2 separate regions of the Homo sapiens genome follow, and region 1 is linked to region 2. The links are contacts of gene promoters, found by promoter capture Hi-C in blood cells and fetal thymus (Javierre and others, 2016). All regions are on one chromosome and are shown on one strand. The core of a region is centred on a gene start or on the middle of the fragment in contact, and the rest is flanking DNA. Distances in the headings are between cores, read along the strand shown.

Region 1 (3,715 bases), core at 521-3,020, 210 kb after region 2:
TTTTTTTTGAGATGGAGTCTCGCTCTGTTGCCAGGCTGGAGTGCAGTGGTGCAATCTTGGCTCACTGCAACCCTCTGTATTTTTTTTTTTTTTTTTTTTTTTGAGACGGAGTCTCGCTCTGTCGCCCAGGTCGGACTGCGGACTGCAGTGGCGCAATCTCGGCTCACTGCAAGCTCCGCTTCCCGGGTTCACGCCATTCTCCTGCCTCAGCCTCCCGAGTAGCTGGGACTACAGGCGCCCGCCACCGCGCCCGGCTAATTTTTTGTATTTTTAGTAGAGACGGGGTTTCACCTTGTTAGCCAGGATGGTCTCGATCTCCTGACCTCATGATCCACCCGCCTCGGCCTCCCAAAGTGCTGGGATTACAGGCGTGAGCCACCGCGCCCGGCCCTCTGTATTTTTTTAATACCAATTAGCCATCCCCACATTCCCCCCACCCTTCCACTACCCTTCCCAGCCTCAGGTTTCTTCATCATTCTAGTCTCTATCTCCATGAGTTTGTTTTAATTTTTAGCTCACACAAGTGAGAACTTGCAAAGTTTGTCTTTCTATGCCTGGCTTATTTCACTTAACATAATGACCTCCAGTTTTATCCATGTTGTTGCAAATCACAGGATCTTATTCTCCTGCTTTTCTTTTGTTTCAAGGGGCGAGTGATGGGTTGCAGGGATGTTAAGATATCTCTCCACTTGAGACTTTATCCTGAGCTTGTCAGGAGAACTGGAGGAGAATTGAATCAAGATGCATTTCTCTAGGCGAATCTGGCTCTGAGAGCCCCTGGGTGGAAGTTCCTTACACTCATATCTGCTAGTTGAACCTCATGGTAACCCCATGAAGTCTGGGGGAAGTGCCCAAAGAGGCCACAGGTGGTTCTGGGGCATCTCAGGGGGCCTCAGTCCAGCACTCACACTCAAGGAGGGATCCGGGCAGGGCCATTGGGAGAAGGCAGGGTGTCCGGTGGCCCTCAGCAGCCTGCGGGAATGTGTGTGAGTGTATGTGTGTTAACCATATCTATAGGAGTGTACATGGGAGTGCATCTGTGAGGCATTGTAGCCTGGAGGCTAAGCTGTGGACCCAGACATACTCTGCCTGACTCCAGTCCCAGCTCTGTAATCTTGAGCAAGTGGTTTAATCTCCTCGGGCCTCAGCCTCCTCATCTGTGAAATGGGTAGGTAGAAGTAGTACCTACCTTCCAGGATGGTTGGAAGATCAAGTGATATACATTCAAGTTCCCTACATGCAGTAAGCCCTCTAAATACTCACTGTTGATGTATGTGTATGTGTGTCTATCTGTCTGTCTCTGCTTGTCTCTCAGTGGGTGTGTGTCTGTCCTGTCTACATTTGTGAGGCCAGCCTAGGCCTGGTCTCTCAGCATGCCTCCCTCTTTCTTCTCCCTACAGCACTGTTGGTCACCGCAGGCCTGTCTTCCTATTCACCGTGGGCAGCAGAGGGATGGCTGCTCAGCTGCTGACTGATGAGGCACTGGTGAGTCATGTTGCCCTGTCACTCTCCTTTCCAAAGGCTGGATCCTGCCTTGGGTGAGCCTCTGCTGCTCGAACCCTCTCCAAGGCCCCCAGTCCCATCTTCTGGGGCTGTGTCTGCCCTGATGAAGAGGGCTGTGCTTATAGATGATGCTGACCCTGGCTGTGGGGTCAGTTGTAGGGGACAGGGAAGCTTTGGAATGGCCAAACTAGCTCTCTGGACTCTTAGGAGACACAGGTGGGCACCTGTGGGAAGTGGTGGTTTAGACATGTGACATTGAGTGAAAACTTGCGCAGGACCATGCTGGATGTGTGACCTTTAAAATGGGCAAACACACTAAATGCTTCTTGTGAATGTGAATGCCCACATGTGTGATGAAAGTACAAAAGCTTATGGGAATGAGGCCCACAAATTCACCCATGATTTTACCCCAAAAGATAATCACTCTGGAATGTTTGAGTCTGGCTAAGCAATTTTAATGTTAAAGATTGCTTTTTCATCAGAGATTTCATCCTGAGCATTTCTCCACATCATTAAAAACTCCTTTGTAACGTCCATCTTAATGACCCCATAAAAGTGTTGTTCAGTGGCCATACCCTGGTTTACTTAATGGTTCCTCTGTTGTTGGACCTTTATTGGTTTCCAAGTATTCTTTTTTTGGTTATAAACAGTGTCATGAGGGACACTGGGCACAAATCTTTCTTTGTGTCTTATATGATTTCTTTAGGAGTGATTCCTTGAAGAGGAAGATTGGGTTGGGTATTTTTGAGGTATTTTGATATTATTTCCACATCAGTTACGGCGGTATGTATTCCCACCAGCATGTCTGAGCGGGTCTCTGATGATTTATATGGCTGTTGTCAGGCATTTATTCTGCATGTTGGATATATTTAGATTGGTGCAATATTGCACCATGATAATAAATGATAAATGGATATAAATGACAAATGCTATAAACCATGATGAGCCTGATAGGGGACAAATGGTGCCACGTGATTTATTTCTGAGTAGCATTGTTTGTATTATTAGTGAAGTTCAAGTCTTAGAAAATGTTTACTAGCCATTTCTGTGGGCAGGGAAATGATCCATCTTGTGCTTTAGCAGTCTACAGGAATCTGAGTATGCTTTAAAGACTTTACAGAAGCAAATGTGTGTGTGTAAATATTTGTGGCAAATATTCTTCCCAGATTTGCTTTTTGTTTCTTTATTTTACTTTATTTTTTCTGTATAAAAGCATTTCATATTTTTAAAATCAAATCTGTTGGTTTCTCCCACTGTGGTGTCTTTCTTCATCTTTAAGCTGTGAAAGGGTTTCTCCATCCACAGGTCACATAGCAGCTATATTTTCTTCCTTTTCACCATTTGTCATTTGAATGTTAACAATGAACTTTTGAATCTACCTGTAATTGATTTTGCTATATAAATGTGTCAGTAGACTTATTTGGGAGCTTTGGTTTATTCTGTCTTCATTTGTTTGGTACCTTTGTTGAGGTACACATCACGTATCACAAAGTGTACAATTCACTGATTTTGGGTACATTCATAGAGTCGCGTTAACCATCACCACAGTCCATTTCAGAATATTTTCATCATCCTGAAAAAGAGCCGAGTACCCATTGGCACTCATTTCCATTTTCCCCCATCAGTCCACGGCCCCTGGCAACCAGTAATCAGCTTTCTGTCTCTATGAATTTGACTGTTCTGGACATTTCAAATAAATGGAATCATACATGGTGTGGTCTTTTGTGACTGGCTTCTTTCACTCAGCATAATATTTGCAAGGTTCAACCATGTGGTAGCACATATAGAGCTTCATTCCTTTTTTTGACTGAATAATATTCCAGTGTGTGTTTCTACATATTTTATTTATCCTTTCATCAGTTGATGGACATTTGGGTTGTTTCCACTTTTTGGCTATTATGAATAATGCTGCTATGAATATTCATGTATAAGTCTTTGAACATATGTTCTCAGTTCTCTTAGGTGTGTACCTGGAAGTGGAATGTTGGGTCATATGGTTAACTCTGTTGAACCAGTAAAGGAACCACCAGACTGTTTTCCTAAGCGATTGCACCATGATGCCTTCATTTTTGTCTCATCTGTGATTCTTGCCTTGAATTCTTCTTTTACCTACATTACTTAGAAAGATTTGTTGATTGTTTTTATTTCAACAGGGTTGGGAGTTTTGGTTTAAGTTTTTTTTTTTTTTAATTACTACTAGTGTAATTACATT
Region 2 (4,022 bases), core at 319-2,818:
ACCCAACCCCAGGAAACCAGCTTTAGCTGCTGCAAGGCAAAGGGGAACCAGTGGTCCTTTCCCTCCCATTTCCCCTAAACATCCAGTGGTTCTGTTTTGCTGCAAATGCAAGTCTAAGACAGGGATGCTGAGGGCTGTTCTAGTGACTGAGACCCACATGTTACCTCAAGGACAAGGAGGGCTTCCCTCAAGCCAGGGAGCATAGAAGGCCTGCATCATTTGCATAGCCCCAGCCTAGAATAAAGCCTTTCCAGGACTAGGCCATTTAACTCTCTCCTGCAGCAAATATAACACCTTTGAAAGTCTACCTGGCTCTTTTCCCAACCGCCAAATATACAAAAAGCTCTACAGCCCAAACTGAGGCTTTGTGCATGCCACTTCATGGAGCATGCCTTGCATCAACAAATGGGATAGAGTTGGAAGGAACAGTAAGAGACAAATTACACACAGCACGCCCAGTGCTCCATTATCAGCACATAAATGTGTCCTTCCATAGAGACACAGCAGTGCACAAAGCTGCATGTCCAATAATATTTGCTAAATAGGAGAACTGAAAATTAGTACGTAAGTAGGCAAGTCCACAAGTAGCCAAGAGGTTGAATCATTTTTGGCACAGCCATATAATGGGATGCCAAGTGACTATCAAAAATGACTATCAAAAACTGACAAGCAAAGATATTAACTACTGAATCCTTTGAGAACATTCAGCAAAAAGAAGTCAAACTCACTAACACACAGGCTAAAAACAAAACAAAACAAAAAAATTGGAAGAAAAAACACCCAAGTATTCGCAGTGTTGTCATTTAACCAGTTCTTGAGCTCACTGTTAAACAAGAAGTACTCTGTAAAGGAGTATATAAGGTGCCTACTGCATTACAAACATTTGGTTCTAAGTAACGTGTAAGTGAAATAATTATGAATGTTGCTTAATATGATGTAATAGGCAGCTTTTCCTTATTATGACCACTTTTATAAGCATTATTTGTATTAACTGCACGATATCCTATTTACAAAGGATGGCCTGTGATCCACTCAAGTGTTTCCCCATTGCTGGACATAGAATTTGAACATATAAAATGTTCCCAAGTATAAGTTTTTCTAAACTAGCGGTTCTAAGTCTTCTGGGGTCTTGTAACTCTCTGAGAACCTCATGAAACAAGATTTCCTCTCAGATTAAAAAAAAAAAAAGGCACGCATAACAGTGAATGCAAAACATCCGCAATTTCAGGGGGTCGGAGACCCCTGCGCACCCACCTAAGGGGTCCATGCACCTGGGCTATGAGGCTGGAAGCAGAAAGGGGGCGCCAGAAAGCGCACGCCGCGAGGGCCGGCGGGAAATGTAGTCTCACGCCGGTAAAGCCACAGAGCGACGATGAGGCGAGACGTCTGCGTTCTTCTCAGGCCTGAGACCCAACCGGCCCGGGCACCAGCTCCTGCTGGACCCCAGAGCGCCTGGAAAGCTCCGGAACCTCTCACCTGCCGCCTCCTCGGGTCCAAGTGCCACCGCGGCCGCGCCCCCGGCAGCCCAGGGCGCGCTTCCACCACGGTACCGGTGGATTCGCCGTGCGCAGCCGGAAGATGGCGCAGACGCACAAAGCACACCGATGCTGCGCCATGATAGGGCCGGCGCCGCAGTGTCTTCCGGGAAACATAGTCTTTAGGCGTAAAGGCAGCAGCCCGGCCTTGAAGCCGGATCTCGCGATGTTTCAGGGTGAGCCGGACGCAGGCGTGCCTGCGCAGTGCGCGGAGGAGTGCTGTTCGTGTGTTCGAGTCCCTGGGTTGCTTCCTGGGGTCTGTGGTGCTGGGTGTGCTATCTGCGTGTGATTCTCTAGCGAGAGATTGTGGGCGAGTGACCGAGTGGGCAAGGGGCCGTCACTGTGTGTGCGTGATTTTGACAGTGTGTGGTGGTAGCTTCTGACTCCGCGTGGGTCGTTGAATGTATGACTGGGACCGTTTAGCGGTGGATACACAACTGTGTGCGGCTGTGGAAGATTGCCTCATCCGTTACGTTCCCATTTCCGTGGAACAACAGTTTTACCAGAAGGTTTCGAAGGAACCTTAAAGTTTGGAAGCGTAAGAGTTTATCTGGTAACTAATTTTAAACATTACATCTATGGTGAGTTAAATGTGGGTTATGAAGGAGAACGCAAAATAAAAACGTTATAAAGATGTAAAGGAGTTTTATGGGGCGGCATCTCTTGGGCAAATATCAGACCGCCGTAGGTAGTTGTTAATTCTCTCTTGTTTTTAGGCGGCTTTGGTGTCATCAAATGTGAGAAGCCCTGGACTTTACACATCCCGAGCCAGTGTGATCCAGTATGATTGGGAGTCCGAGTGCCAGATGCCGGTCAGGACCTGTTATGCTGGGTCTCAGAATGCGGAAACTCTCCCTGTCCGAGGTGGAACAGTTTGTCCTTGAGTGAGGACTGGAGTCCTGAGTGACTCTTTTGATTTGATCCTGTTTCCCTCAAACCTGGTGAGCTCTATGGTGTAATAAATGGTTAAGAGTGTGAACCCTTAACCATCTCTAAGACTGGAGCCAGAATGCCTGAACTCCAGTCTTAGAGATGTGCCTCGGTCTCCACATTTGAAAGTGAGGATGATTGTGGCATCTAATTCATTGAGTTGTTGGGGAGGAGTAACTGATATGTAAAATAATGCTACTGCTGCTGGATAAGGATGCTAATATGACTGAAGCTAATGCTTTCTTTCTGCAAAGATGCTTTTTCCAAAACACACCATATTGCCTCTTTACACATTCTTCAGGAGAGGGTAGAGGCTGCATTTTCCTTGTAGGTGCGGTGATGTGGTGGAAAGCACACTTTTAGAATTAGACAGATGTGGATTCAAATAGCATTTCAGCCATTTATTAGTTTCTTCGTGCCTATCTCGGTTTTGTTTTGTTTTTTTTTTTTTGTCCATAAAAGGAAGAATGTAATGCTGGGCTTGCAGCTTTGTCCTGAGGGTCAAATAAAATGATTTAATAATATAAGCAAAGCTCAGAGGTTGGTTATTGCTGATTACTGATATTAAAAGACAACTTCAGCAAGGATGGTTGAATTTCACACTTGTGAGCGGACAGTTGAGGAGACAGTTGTAGATTTATCCTACTTGACCTTATTTGTGGTTCAAGACAGTGTTGCGAGTTCAAGAGGAGAGGGTAGATGCAAAAAGTCATCATCTTTCCTATGTTCTCTGATCTTGGGAAGGGGCGAGTGGCTCTAGTTTCCCTTTAACATCCCACTGTGTTGAGTGTGTCTATATGTACATGCGTCAGTATTTGCTTATGGAGGAAAGGAAGGAAAAAGACCAAACAGGTACAAAGCCAGCCATCTCTCAGGCTAACTTTCTTCTATACCATTTTTACTTTCTCACATTCATTAATCTGCCAAAGAGAAATTTAGAGGATGATGAAATGGCCACTTCTGACTCTGAACCAAGCCTCTGAAGTCATACACCATTATACTCTTGGTCACAAAATCAGCTGTGAGTCTAAGTAGGTGGAGGCTACACAAGAGTATAAGTACTAGGAGGCAGGGATCATTCAGGGTCGTCTTAGAGGGTGGCTTCCAGTTTCTTCCTTTTAAGAGTATGAGAATGCTCTGAGCTAGCCTCTCCATTCCATGGAATCCATAGGTCTTTTGTCAGCCACTTCCCAGTACACATTCCTGTGCCAAAGCACATGCAGAGTTTGTAGGGTCCAGCCCCACAGGGTCGGTTGGTTTCTCCCCGTGTGCGGAGACGAGAGATTGTAGAAATAAAGACGCAAGACAGAGATAAAAGAAAAGACAGCTGGGCCCAGGGGACCACTACCACCAAGACGCGGAGACTGGTAGTGGCCCCGAATGCCAGGCTGCGCTGATATTTATTGGATACAAGACAAAGGGGCAGGATAAGGAGTGTGAGCCATCTCCAATGATAGGTAAGGCCACATGGGTCACATGTCCACTGGACAGGGGGCCCTTTCCTGCCTGGCAGCCGAGGCAGAGAGAGAGAGGAGAAAGAGAGAGAGAGCTTACACC

The links. Contacts are between HindIII fragments. The CHiCAGO score rates a contact against its expected background, and 5 or more counts as called.
Region 1: a fragment that was not itself captured here is called in contact with the fragment with the promoter of ZNF582 in region 2 in 1 of 17 cell types (total CD8 T cells); the score reaches 5.0 in total CD8 T cells.

Annotation. Positions count from the first base shown.
Region 1 is chr19:56,600,107-56,603,821 of GRCh38, forward strand. ZNF71 (zinc finger protein 71) reads left to right here. Exons shown (of 4, transcript NM_001370215.1): 2 at 1,401-1,485. The coding sequence starts at 1,453. It overlaps ZNF71-SMIM17 (ZNF71-SMIM17 readthrough (NMD candidate)), which reads left to right. Exons shown (of 5, transcript NR_163263.1): 2 at 1,401-1,485. Among named protein-coding and RNA genes, the nearest start is that of ZNF71-SMIM17, 6.7 kb to the left of the region's middle. The HindIII fragment of the contact is 197 bases long and covers 1,673-1,869 here.
Region 2 is chr19:56,391,966-56,395,987 of GRCh38, forward strand. ZNF582 (zinc finger protein 582) reads right to left here and starts at 1,569. Exons shown (of 5, transcript NM_001320371.4): 1 at 1,255-1,569. ZNF582-DT (ZNF582 divergent transcript) reads left to right here and starts at 1,711. Exons shown (of 2, transcript NR_037160.1): 1 at 1,711-2,088. The HindIII fragment of the contact is 9,401 bases long and covers 1-4,022 here.